2 separate regions of the Homo sapiens genome follow, and region 1 is linked to region 2. The links are contacts of gene promoters, found by promoter capture Hi-C in human tissues and cell types (Jung and others, 2019). All regions are on one chromosome and are shown on one strand. Each heading gives the region's core, a stretch centred on a gene start or on the middle of the fragment in contact. The rest is flanking DNA. Distances are from core to core; before and after follow the strand shown.

Region 1 (5,759 bases), core at 3,018-5,517, 48 kb before region 2:
GATTCTTAAGCCTTTCCCTCACCTGAGAAACCCTTGGTTCAACAAACCTCATCAGAGGCCCAATATTTTAAAAGCACACACAGGTGGGTGTGGCAGCTCATGCCTATAATCCCAGCACTCTGCGTGGCCAAGGCAGGCGGATTTCTGGAGTCCAGGAGTTTCAGACCAGCCTGGGCAACAGAATGAGACTCCATCTCTACAAAAACATACAAGAATTAGCCAGGTGTGGGGGTGTGCACTTTTCTTTTTTTTTCCTGAGACAGAGTCTCACTTTGTCACCCAGGCTGGAGTGCAGTGGCATGATCTCGGCTCACTGCAACCTCCACCTCCCTCCGCCTCCCGGGTTCAAATGATTCTCCTGCCTCAGCTGGGATTACAGGTGTGACCATGCATGGCTAATTTTTGTATGTTTTCTTTAGTAGAGATGGGGTTACTCCTGACCTCAAGTGATCTGCCCGCCTTGGCCTCCCAAAGTGCTGGGATTACAGGCATGAGCCACGGCGCCCAGCCTACTTTTTCAATATTTAGAGATTTGGTCTTGGTATATTCCCCAGGCTGGCCTTGAACTCCTGGGCACAAGCAATCCTCCCACCTCCCCAGGTGCTGGAATTACAGGTATGAACCACCACACCCAGCCACAATTTTGCTCCTAAAACAAACCAAGCTGCCAGCAAAAAGAATTAGCAGGATCCCAGGCTGACGCCTTTCACCATGGCCACTGGGAGTGCTCGGTGGGAGCAGGAAGGCTGACAGCCACGCCTCTGAGGTCCTCGAGAGTCTCCTCTCATCAGGAGCTGCATCAGGAGCAGTTTGAGGAAACAAAAAGCTCCAGGGTGGGCATTCCTGCCTCCAATCCTGACTGCCACTGACTGGAAGCAAGATCTGGGACAATCCCAACACCTTCCCAAGCCTCGGGGTGTGCACTAAGGCAGCACCCACACTGCGGGGCCGCCACGAGGTCAGACCATGCACCATGCAAGGAGCATGCACTAGGCTGCCCTTTCCACGTGTGGGCATGTGGGAGCCCAGGACTGTCCTGCACATTCACTGGAAATGAACAGAGGCCAGACTGCGGGCTTGAAAGCCAGGCTGCGGGACCCAATGTGTGGGTCCCAGCTCTGCTCCCCACAACTCACCAGACAGGTTGCTGTCTCCACTGCCGTCCCGCTTCTGCTGCAGGGGCACTCGATTCTGCTCCAGCTCCTGACAGACATAAATGGTCATCTTTGGCCTCACATTCCTGGCAGGAGAAGAGAAAATAAATAATAGGTGTGGTGGACCAGGCGCAGTTGTTTCAGAATATTCCAGGATGGAAACAATAGTGGGCAGAACTCAGGGAGGAAGAAAGACAGCGGTGGTGACGTGGAGTGCCTGTCATGGGGTGGTGGATGACCCTCCCAGGTCCCGCAGCCTGCCAAGGGGCACTCTGCCCCAGACCATGAAGCTCAACATACAAGACGTTTTCAGGCAACAATTAGAGCAAACACTGTCTGTGGCTTGCTGTGTATCAGGTATTGTTCTCAGAACATGCGTAACTCATTTCATCCTCACAAAACTTGCAAGGGAGCTAGGACTATCGCTCTCATTCCACAGTTGAGCAAACTGAGGCTCGGAGGGCAAAGGGCTTTCCCTTCACTGCACAGCACCTAAGAGGCAGATCTGGGACTCAAACCCAGGCTCTCACTCTAAAACCATGCTGTCCATGTGTGGCTATTAAAACTTAAATTCACTAAAGTTAAATAAAAATTTCGTCCATCACATCAGCCTCGGTCCAAGTGCTCCACAGCCACATGTGGCCAGCACGGCTGCAGAACGTCTCTGCCATGGCAGGAAGGTGTGCAGGACGGCGCTGCTCTGGAGTCTCCCCTGAAACTGCTGCATGATACCATCTGACCAGCCCCAAGTCCACAGCTCCCCTCAGCGGGGGAGCAGCTCCGAGCCCAGGACCACACAAGCATCTGAGAACATGGGCAAGTGGCTCAGAGGCCGAGATCCAGAGGCCAAGGCTCTCGTCCAACCAAGAAGAGGGAGGGGCCTCCAGGCAGGGTCTGCGGCAGCTGGCCACATCTCCCACTGCAGTGTCTCACTCCCCTGCTGTGGCCCGTGCCCCTCTTGCCACATTTCCTCCTACACTTGACCCCACACTGCAGGAGTCCTGTCCCCCCAGCCAGACCACCCACCATCCAAAAGGCTGAGGTAGGGGTTTCCCACCACATGCCACGGGACATGAGCCTCTGGCTGGCTTCACAGAGAAACCAACACCTACCGGCCTTTGATGGCGTTGAAGAGCCGGATCCCATCTGCGGGACCACAGATCTGGACCAAATCATCTCGGGACATCTTCAGCAAGTCAGCACCTAGGCAGGAAAAAAACGGGGATGCCTGTTACATGGAACCCAGAGAAAGGGCTCGGTCCCCAACCAGCTGCAGACCCCATAGCACTGGGGGTGGGGGGTGGGGAAGAGCCAGCTGCACTATCTCACAGAGAGAAAATGGCAAAATGCTCAACAACATCAAAAGATTGCAGCCCAGGAAGTGCCAGTGCTCACAACAGTGAGTACAACAGAAGCCAATAGGTCCCCACTGCCTCATTGCCTGCCCTGCTTGCTTTCTTTCTTTCTTTTTTTTTTTTTTTTTTTTTTTAAGAGACAAGGTCTCAATATATTGCCTAGCCTGGCTGGTCTTGAACTCCTGGGCTCAAGCAATCCACCTACCTCAGCCTCTCAAAGTACTGGGATTACAGACATGAGTCACTGCATCTGGCCTCTTCTCTTTTTTTTTTGACATATAATCTGTATGCATAGATGTCATCAGCACAGGGCACTGGCCATGTGTGCATCTGTCTGTATGTGGAAGTATACAGCTCGCTGGATGCTGACAATCTGAATACACCCCAGGACCCAGCACTCAGAGCCAGCAGTGAAACATTGCCAGCCTCCTGTAGGCCCCTCGTACCAGCCACCACCCCTACTCCCACCCAGGGGAGCCACTATCCTGACTTGCTACAGTGCAGACACGTTTTGCATGTTCTCTGAAGTTTCTGTACATGGAATTGAACGGTAGGCACTCTTCCTGGTCTGGCTTCCCTCCCCGCAAGTCATGTTTCACGGTGCATTTGTGTGGAATGTAGTCAGAGTGTTCATGCCCGTTATTACCTATCATTGTGTGACTACACCACAATTCACATACCCACTTTATGTGGATGGGCGCTGGGGGGGCTTCAGGTCTGGGCTGTTATGAATAGGCTCTCTGAACGTTCTCATACATGTCTTTGTTCATTACACAAGGTGCGTGTCTGCCGGGTCTAGCCCCGGAGAGGGCTGCGGGATCACAGGGTGTGTTTGGCTCTAGCAGATACTGCCAGCAGTTTCCCAGAGTGTTGCATCTATGTATGGTCCCACCAGCAGCATGTGAGGACGGGCCCACAGTTAAAGGAACATAGGAAGGTGACCGTCTCATGGGGACAGAAGTGAGCACAGCGTGAGGGCTGCCCCTTCCTCAAAGCCCAAGGGGTCCCCGAGAGCCTGGTCCCACACACTCTCCAAGGTACTAGTATATCAGCCTCAGGTGAAAGCCTGCCCAAGGCCACAATTCCCACTCCTCTCCTCTCATCACAATAAGATACGGTTTTAGGTACAATTCTATAGACACAATGGCTTCCTTTCCACTGGGAGTAAAAGCCGAAGTCCTTCCACTGTTCTTCCAGGGCCCCCATCCTGTCCGTGTCCCTTGGTGCCTCTCTGACCTCTCCTCCCCGGGCCACTCCACTCCACTCCACCTGGGTCCCCTGCTCTGTGACCACATAAGGCAGGTGCCCACATGGTGGCTGACTGCCCTACTTAAGACACAGCCGGCACTCCTCCCCCACCTCCACCCAGTCCAGTGCAGGGTCCTCTCTGAACCCCCACTCCAATCACACAAGTCACGCTGCACCGAAATGAGTGGTTTATGCATCTGTACTGACTTACAGCTACAAGCTCCCAAGGACAGGGACCCTCCCCCAACAGGCTCTCAGCAATGCCGAGCTGAGGATGTGCGGGCGTCGTTTCTCTTCCACTGCCACAGGTGTCTGTGGCATCCGCTCCTCTAGTTGTGGCCAAGCCTTTACTCTGTCACTGTGGATGAACTCTACTTGGTGACAAGGCTCACTGCTCAGTTCACCTTTGCACTCCACAATACCTAGCTTGGGACTTCTGTCTGAGGGCCCATCAGGAAGGGCTCTGACACTTTCTAAAGAAGGAAGAGCCCCCTTTCTGTCTCACCTGTGGCCTCACCTCCAGCTCCCAGGTCGTGGCTCTGGAGCCAATGTGAGGAGCAGTATTTGGGTAGGAAAAGCATAAGGGGCCCTGCATCACCCTGCCGGGCTAAGGGGACTCTTCCTGGACAGACCAGAGCCCACCAACCCCCCGCAGGTGAGGAGATCTTGACCAAGTCACCCAGATGGTCCCCCTCAAGTCACACTCACTTGGGACCTTCTGGGGGCAGCATCACCTATGTCCAGCACTTGGCCCAGGGTTGGGGCACGTGAGCGAGCGAACCCACACTATCTCGGGTCTCCCAGCTGAAACGACAGCGCTGCCAGTGTTGACAGCAAGGCCTGGAAGGTGGCCAGCCTTGAAGTGTCTCCAAGATACTCATGGGCTTTAAACACAGTTCGGAGATGCTCACCTGAGAAGCTGGCAAAGAGCCGGCAGAACTGCGAGAACCTGTTGCGGTGAAGCCACTGCTGGGCATCCTGGATCGAAGCTGATGGGAGCAGGTGCTGTGAGCAGAGGGGAGAGGCCTTGAGATGGTGGCTCAGGGCCCACGAGGGACCACCAGCCAGAAAGCCCTGCTCAGACACTTACGTCACTGCCCACGGGCAGGGCCTCCACCGGGTGGGTCGGAGAGGCGTTGCTGCAAGGAAAAGGAACCAGTGATGAGGACAGAGGGGGCTCCCAGGGCAATGGCCACGGTCCCGGCACCCAGCCTGGCACTTTTACTTCCTATCAGATGCAGGATTTGTTCTAAGTGAAATGAGTCCTCAAGAATTTCCTGAGTCACAGAAACACAGCAGGAGCCAATGTCCAATCCCTCAAAATCCCTAACTGAGCCTTCATTGTAGACAGCAAGTTCTGATAGGCTACACTGCCCCAGTCAATGACACTCCTCTACCCTGAGTCACCGGCAACACATCCCAGGCCCCTGCTGGCTGACCCCTGCTGGTCTTGAACTTGGAGATTCAAAGCCCCAGCCCCAGGGAAAGGCACGCTGACCAAGGGCACCCAGAGCCTTGGCACCTGAAGGCTACCACCAAACTCAAGGGTCCTCCACCAAACCCTTTGTCAGGTGGTGAGGGGAGAGGGCATAAGAATCCCACGGGGAGTTATTTTGCAGTGAACAAGCACCCGCAGCTTGACATCCATCCACGAGGAAAAGCACTGTTCTGTTCTCTCCCGAGAGGGGGTGCACAAGCTTCCTCGGGGGCCAGGTTGGGGATGAGGCACAGACCTGAGCGCTCTCCAGGTGGACGGCGGTGAACGCTGCACAACAGTGTGAATGTACTTAATGCCACCAGACTGCACACTTAAAAATGGTAAATTTTGTGTTATGTATATTTCTCCATAATGGGAAAAAGAGACCCTCGCAGGGCTGATCCCCAGACCGGTCATCAGTGAAGACAGCCGCCACTTCTCGCCAAGTGTCTACAGGGTGCAAGCATCGTACACTTGTTCCTCCCGACCCTGTGTAGAATTCTTAACCCCCTTTTGTAGTAGAGA
Region 2 (5,595 bases), core at 1,099-3,598:
CATCAATTTTGAGAAGAAAAAGCCTGGCATTGAGCACACACCTGGAAAACCTGCCCTGTGTGGGCCTCCCCCGTCACCATCCACTGCCGAAAAATAAGGGTGCAAGGCCGTCTCGACTTTCCCCCACAGGGCGTCTTCCTTTTGTCAGAGCAGGGCACACTCCCAGCCCGGGTGGTTCTCTAGGAACACTGAGGATTGCATAATTTCATGTTTGCCCAGACCATGTCAAGTTAATAATCCACGGACTGCTGCCTTTAAATTTTTTAAACAGGGGCGGGTGGGCAGAGGAAGTTAAGAACCATCCCTCAACAGTAACTTGTTTCAAGCCTGGCATCTTTATTTGCCAAGGAATAAAAGTCACGAGAACATCAAACAGAAAGGGGGAAGGGAGTAAAGGCCTCTACCCTGGTGAGGTCAGACAGCTTGCAGAAGTTCTGCCAAGTGAGGAGACGACCAAAAATAAAATACAAAAAACGCAAGGAAAAGGACCAGACCCTCCCTCTAGAGTCAGGGGACCAGGGGCATATGCACAAACCGCCACCTTGGCCCTCACTGAGGGCAAAACTCCCAGCTTCCAAGAAGTGAAATAAAAAAGGGCAAGGACTTCTTTATCCATGGTCCCCCGATGACCCCAGAAGCCAATATGGCTTTACAGCACCACCCACTCCCAACGCTCACCCTCCTCCTTTCACCAAATCCTAAAAGGTACCTGAGCTACTCCAGACAAACTTCCATCTCGGTAGCAGATGTCAGAACTGTACCTCCCAGGCAAGGGAGAATTGTTCCCTAACGGGGTGAGGACATTGTAGGTATCTAGGAAGTTTCAAGTACACTCACCTTCAACTCAGGGTCACCTTCAAACTCATTGTTAAGATATGGCAACATACTTAATGGCAGCAAACTAAAACTTAGCCAAAGCTACAACTAAAACTTCAGTACAGTAAAAATGTATTCCATTGTAGCATTTCTTGCAAGTGAATGGACACTTAATCTCTGGGTGATTAACATCTCCTCCTGGGCTTCCCTCTGGTGACATCACCGTGGTCTGCCGGGTGGCTGTCAGCCTTTAAGGCTCTAGACCTTTGCCATCTCCGACTACTTTGGCCCATGAATAAAAACAGCAGATACATCCACTAAACCCAATCATTCCCCCGCCTCCAGGAAAAGGGGATGTCTTCAGGGAGGACAAATACCTACCAGCAGCCAGGAATTACAAATAACGTTTTAAGATCTAAGTGGGAACTTCTTGGGGCCAAAACTAGCACTTAAAGGTAGCTCTAGTATGGGGGCTGTCAATGCCTGTGACTCCTTCGGCCTCATCATTCATTTTCCTTGAGCCCATATCAAATGCCCTTTGGGTTAAATTAGGCACATTTCATAAACTGTGACTAAGATGGAAATAAGGACAGGCTAAAGCTGGTTCAGGCGAGTTCACAAAGTGAAATGACTGCCCATTAGTCCCGGCCAGCAGCAGAACAGGGAAAAACAATCCTCCGGGAGCGAGAGCACACGGGGTCCTACTGCTAAGAGGGGCCTGTGGGGAACTGTGCAAAACACGCAGGACTTACTTTCCCCTCTGAAGGGCACTACTCAAATCCCTCCAGCAGAAGAAAGATTTCCATCAAGGGCAATAACCACGCGGGCCTCGGGCGAACACGCGCAAGACCATCGCGGGAAGTGGGGCGGCCTGCCCCTCCGAGCCCGCCGCCCGCCCCTCGTCCAAGGAAGGGCACTGCAGAGGGCGCGAGGCTGGGAGAGGGGCCCCGGCGGAGACGGGCAAAGAGCAGGGGACGAACTTCCCCGGGCCGGGCACCAGGCTGCTGGCAGGAAGTTTCCTCTGCTTCTCCGATACGCGGGGGAGAGGAGGGCCGCAGGGGGCGGACGGGCCAGGGGAGGCGGCGGGCCGGCAGGTGCGCGCCCTGCACCCTCTCTGCCGCCTGGGAGGAGCCCTCGCAGACATAGGGCTCTGCGCGCTCGCCTCCCCAGCGGGCCCCCAACTCCGCACGTCGGGTCCCGCCGGCGTCCATCTGTCAGTCCCTAGGCGGGACGCTGGGCGGGTCTCTCAGTCCCCAGAGGGCGGACAGCGGGGAGGCCAGGGCCCAGCAGGGGCGCCCCCTCTCCGCCCCTGGACGTCCAACGGCGCCCGGCCCGCCGGCCCGGCCCGAGACCCGCGGGGACCGCGCGCGGCCCTTACCGCAGGTAGCTGCCGGAGTTGTGCTGGTTGTAGTGCTCGGGCTGCGTGTGCCAGAAGAGCATGGCTGGAACTCCCAGCGCGCCGACCGGGGCGCGGCAGCAAGCGCAGACGCGGGGCGCGCCGAGGACCCAGCGGCGGCTTCGCGCTCCGAACCCGCGGTGCCGGCCGGCTCGGCGCATTTATCGGCGGCCCAGGGGCGGGACAGCGGTGAGACCCGCCCCCCAGGAAGCGCGGCCCGGAGGGCGGCTCCCCGCGGCAGCCGCACCTGGCTGACTCCCGCGCGTGCCTTTCCGGCGAGCGAGCGCGCCTCCGGGGCGGCCAGACCAGAGGGCTCTAGGGCCGGCCGGGTGCTCTCCCCAAACTCCGATGTGGGGCTCAGGTGACCCTTGCCGCCCCCAACCCGCTCCACACGGCCCCTCTGGCCTCTGCTCCCCACTCTACGCCCAGGGCCGGTCTCCAGAGCGGCTCCGAGATTTCCAGCCTAGGCCCTCTCTGTCGCCTTTCCTCGCTCTTGTTTTTTCATAGCACTTCAGACGCTCTGAAATCATGGGGGTTTTTTTGTTGGTTTTTTTTTTTTTGAGACGGGGTCTCGCTCTGCCACCCAGGCTGGAGTGCAGTGGCGCGATCTCGGGGCTCACTGCAACCTCTCCTCCCAGGTTCAAGCAATTCTCCTACCTCAGCCTCCTGAGTAGCTGGGATTACAAGCGCCCCCCATCACGCCTGACTGATTTTTTTATTGTTAGTAGAGACGGGGTTTCGCCATGTTGGCCAGGCTGGTCTCGAACTCCTGACCTCAGGTGATCCGCCCACCTTGGCCTCCCAAAGTGCTGGCATTACAGGCGTGAGCCCCCGAGTCAGGCCGACATTTTTTTATTTTTTATTTTTACTTGTGTACTGATTGTCTTTCCCATTAGACTGTAAGCTCCAAGAGGACAGGGCCTGGCTCGCTTAACACCCCGTTACCTGCACTGCCTAGAACAGTGCATGGGACATAGTTAAGATAAATGTTTGTTGAGTAAACATAAAAAAAGAAAAAAGGAATGCACCAAAAGAGTAATCAGAGAAGCCTTCCTGGAGGAGGTGACATTGAGCTGAGACCTGATGGATGCAAAGGAAGCATCTCTGTGAACATCACCTAGGGAAAAATAGTTCCAGGCATAGTTCCCTACCCCCTTGGCAACAGTGACTGCCAAAGCCTTGAGGAAGACCTACTTGGCATGGCTGGTCTTGAGGAGAGCTTAGGAGATGAGGTGAGGAGGGCGGGGAAGATCAGAGGGCCTGGCAGGCCAGGACAAGGAGCTAGGATTTTATTCTGTGTTTTAAGCAGAGGAGTCACATGTATGATTTGCCTTTTGGAAAGATCAGTCTGGCAGCAGTGTAGACAGTGGGTCATGGGGTGGAGGGGAGGGCCATTAGGAGGGAGTGGAGTTCCCTGGAGCCCTGACCCCTATCCAGGTGCTATCCGGTTCTCCAGTACATGGCACAGCACCTGGCACAGAGGAGATGGGGATTCTGTCCCTGAGTATTAATCCAGTCAAATGACATCCCTTGGGGACCTGGTCCAGAACTCCCCACTCCCCCACGCATGGATGTGGGTAAAACCCTCCCTCACTCTGCTGTTCCTGCCCTCCTCCCTCCAGCCATAGGTCACAACTGGCAAACCACTTCCTCTGTGCAGCCCTCAAGGACTGCCCCCCACTGTTCTGCCCTGTTAGGAGAATGGGAATATTTCCCCGGCTTCAGGTGGTGCTGTCAGCAGACAGTCCCCCAGCCATCGGCTTCTCCAGGAACTGCCCCTGCTCAGAGAGCAGCCTTGCCCTCTGTCATGTCCCTCCTGGGATAGCCCACATCCCAATGACTATCCCAGCAGAAGTATAAAAGCTTGGCCATCTCTGCCTGACTGGGGACAGTGCTGATGGGGTATTTTAGCCCCAGGACTCCCCATGAAGACAGTCAAAGCTGTCACAAGACCTGTGTCCTGCTCAGGGTCTCCCTCCTGCTTCCTTCCAGTTCCTTGCCCAGGGGTTACTCTTAAGGGAACTTCCAAAGAAACATCCTGAACACCGACCCCCACAACCAACCTCACCCCATCAGGGTCCATGACAAACCCATTGTTTAAATGGGAGACACTCTGGGGTGGTCTGGAAAGAACATGTCCTTTGCTGGACTCGTCCTTGAGTTCTAACAGGAGAGGTCCATGGGTAAGCAGCAGTGACAGTACAGTGTGGTCAGGGACGTAGAGGCTGCCCTGGGAACACAGAGGAGGACTCTGGAGCTCCGAAGAGGCTCCAGCATGAAGTGATATCTCCTGATGGATGGGTGAGTGGAAGTGAAACCAATCTGTGGAGATGGAGGGAGGTTTCCGGCCCAGTAGACGCTCCTGCAAAGGCCTGGAGGAAGGGCAGTCAATATTATTAGATGGTTCAGACCTGGGTTTACTACTTAGCTCCATCTGAATCTATGACCTTGGGTGGAGTAAATTGACCTCATGCTGCTTCTCCCATCAAGAGGTGGTGTCTGTTTCCCTCCCCTCCCCCTTCCGCCTGGGCTGACCCTGTGACTTACTTTAACCATAGAATGCAGAGGAAGTAATGCTTTTCCCTTCTGGGCTGGCCCCTAGGCAGCTTCTCTTTTTTTTTTTTTTTTTTTTGAGACGAAGTTTCTTGTTGCCCAGACTGGAGTGCAATGGCAGGATCTCAGCTCACCGCAAGCTCTGCCTCCTGGGTTCAAGCGATATTCCTGCCTCTGCCTCCTGAGTAGCTGGGATTACAGGTGCCTGCCACCACACCCAGCTAATTTTTTATATTTCAATTAGAGACGGGGTTTCACCATGTTGGCCAGGCTGGTCTAGAACTCCTGACCTTCAGGTGATCCACCCACCTCAGCCTCCCAAAGTGCTGGGATTACAAGCATGATAGGCAGCTTCTCTTAACTCTCCCAGAGCTCTGAGCCACCAGGTAGAGTCCAAATGCCCCATTGGAGAGGGAGACCTGGTCAGCCTCCAATCCCTCTGGCCACTCCGCAGAGCCCATCTAAGATGCCCCAGGGGATTGCCTCCAACCACACCTCATAGAACTGAGGCAAGCCCTGCCCACCCAAGCCCTGCCCAAAATGCAGGCTCGAGAGCAAATGGATGGCTGTGGCCTTACGCCACTGAGGTGTGGGCTGGTTTGTTTCATACAAATGGAAAAATGATACGCTGGGCCCTGTGGATCTGGGTTTTGCTATTGGGAATAATAAGGGCTCATTTCATGGTTGTGGTGAAGCTTAGGTTCAGGTGAGTTTAGCTTCTCAGGGATGATGGCTCTCATGACCTAAGTATGACTCTCTGTATTTTGGGTCATTGCCTACTTTCTCTCTCTTTGTAGGTTTTTAACTATGGGAGGGTAGAATTCAGCAAT

Evidence for each region. The method cuts DNA at HindIII sites, captures the fragments that hold promoters and counts their contacts. A contact is called where the count stands out against the background at its distance.
Region 1: a contact is called between a fragment that was not itself captured here and the fragment with the promoter of TFCP2L1 in region 2, in 1 of the 25 tissues and cell types used here (aorta).

Annotation. Positions count from the first base shown.
Region 1 is chr2:121,232,955-121,238,713 of GRCh38, forward strand. TFCP2L1 (transcription factor CP2 like 1) reads right to left here. Exons shown (of 15, transcript NM_014553.3): 9 at 4,848-4,896; 10 at 4,669-4,762; 11 at 2,267-2,357; 12 at 1,137-1,240. Among named protein-coding and RNA genes, the nearest start is that of TFCP2L1, 49 kb to the right of the region's middle. The HindIII fragment of the contact is 6,690 bases long and covers 923-5,759 here.
Region 2 is chr2:121,282,854-121,288,448 of GRCh38, forward strand. TFCP2L1 (transcription factor CP2 like 1) reads right to left here and starts at 2,349. Exons shown (of 15, transcript NM_014553.3): 1 at 2,195-2,349. The coding sequence starts at 2,256. RefSeq lists a silencer at 2,375-2,514. The HindIII fragment of the contact is 14,413 bases long and covers 1-4,767 here.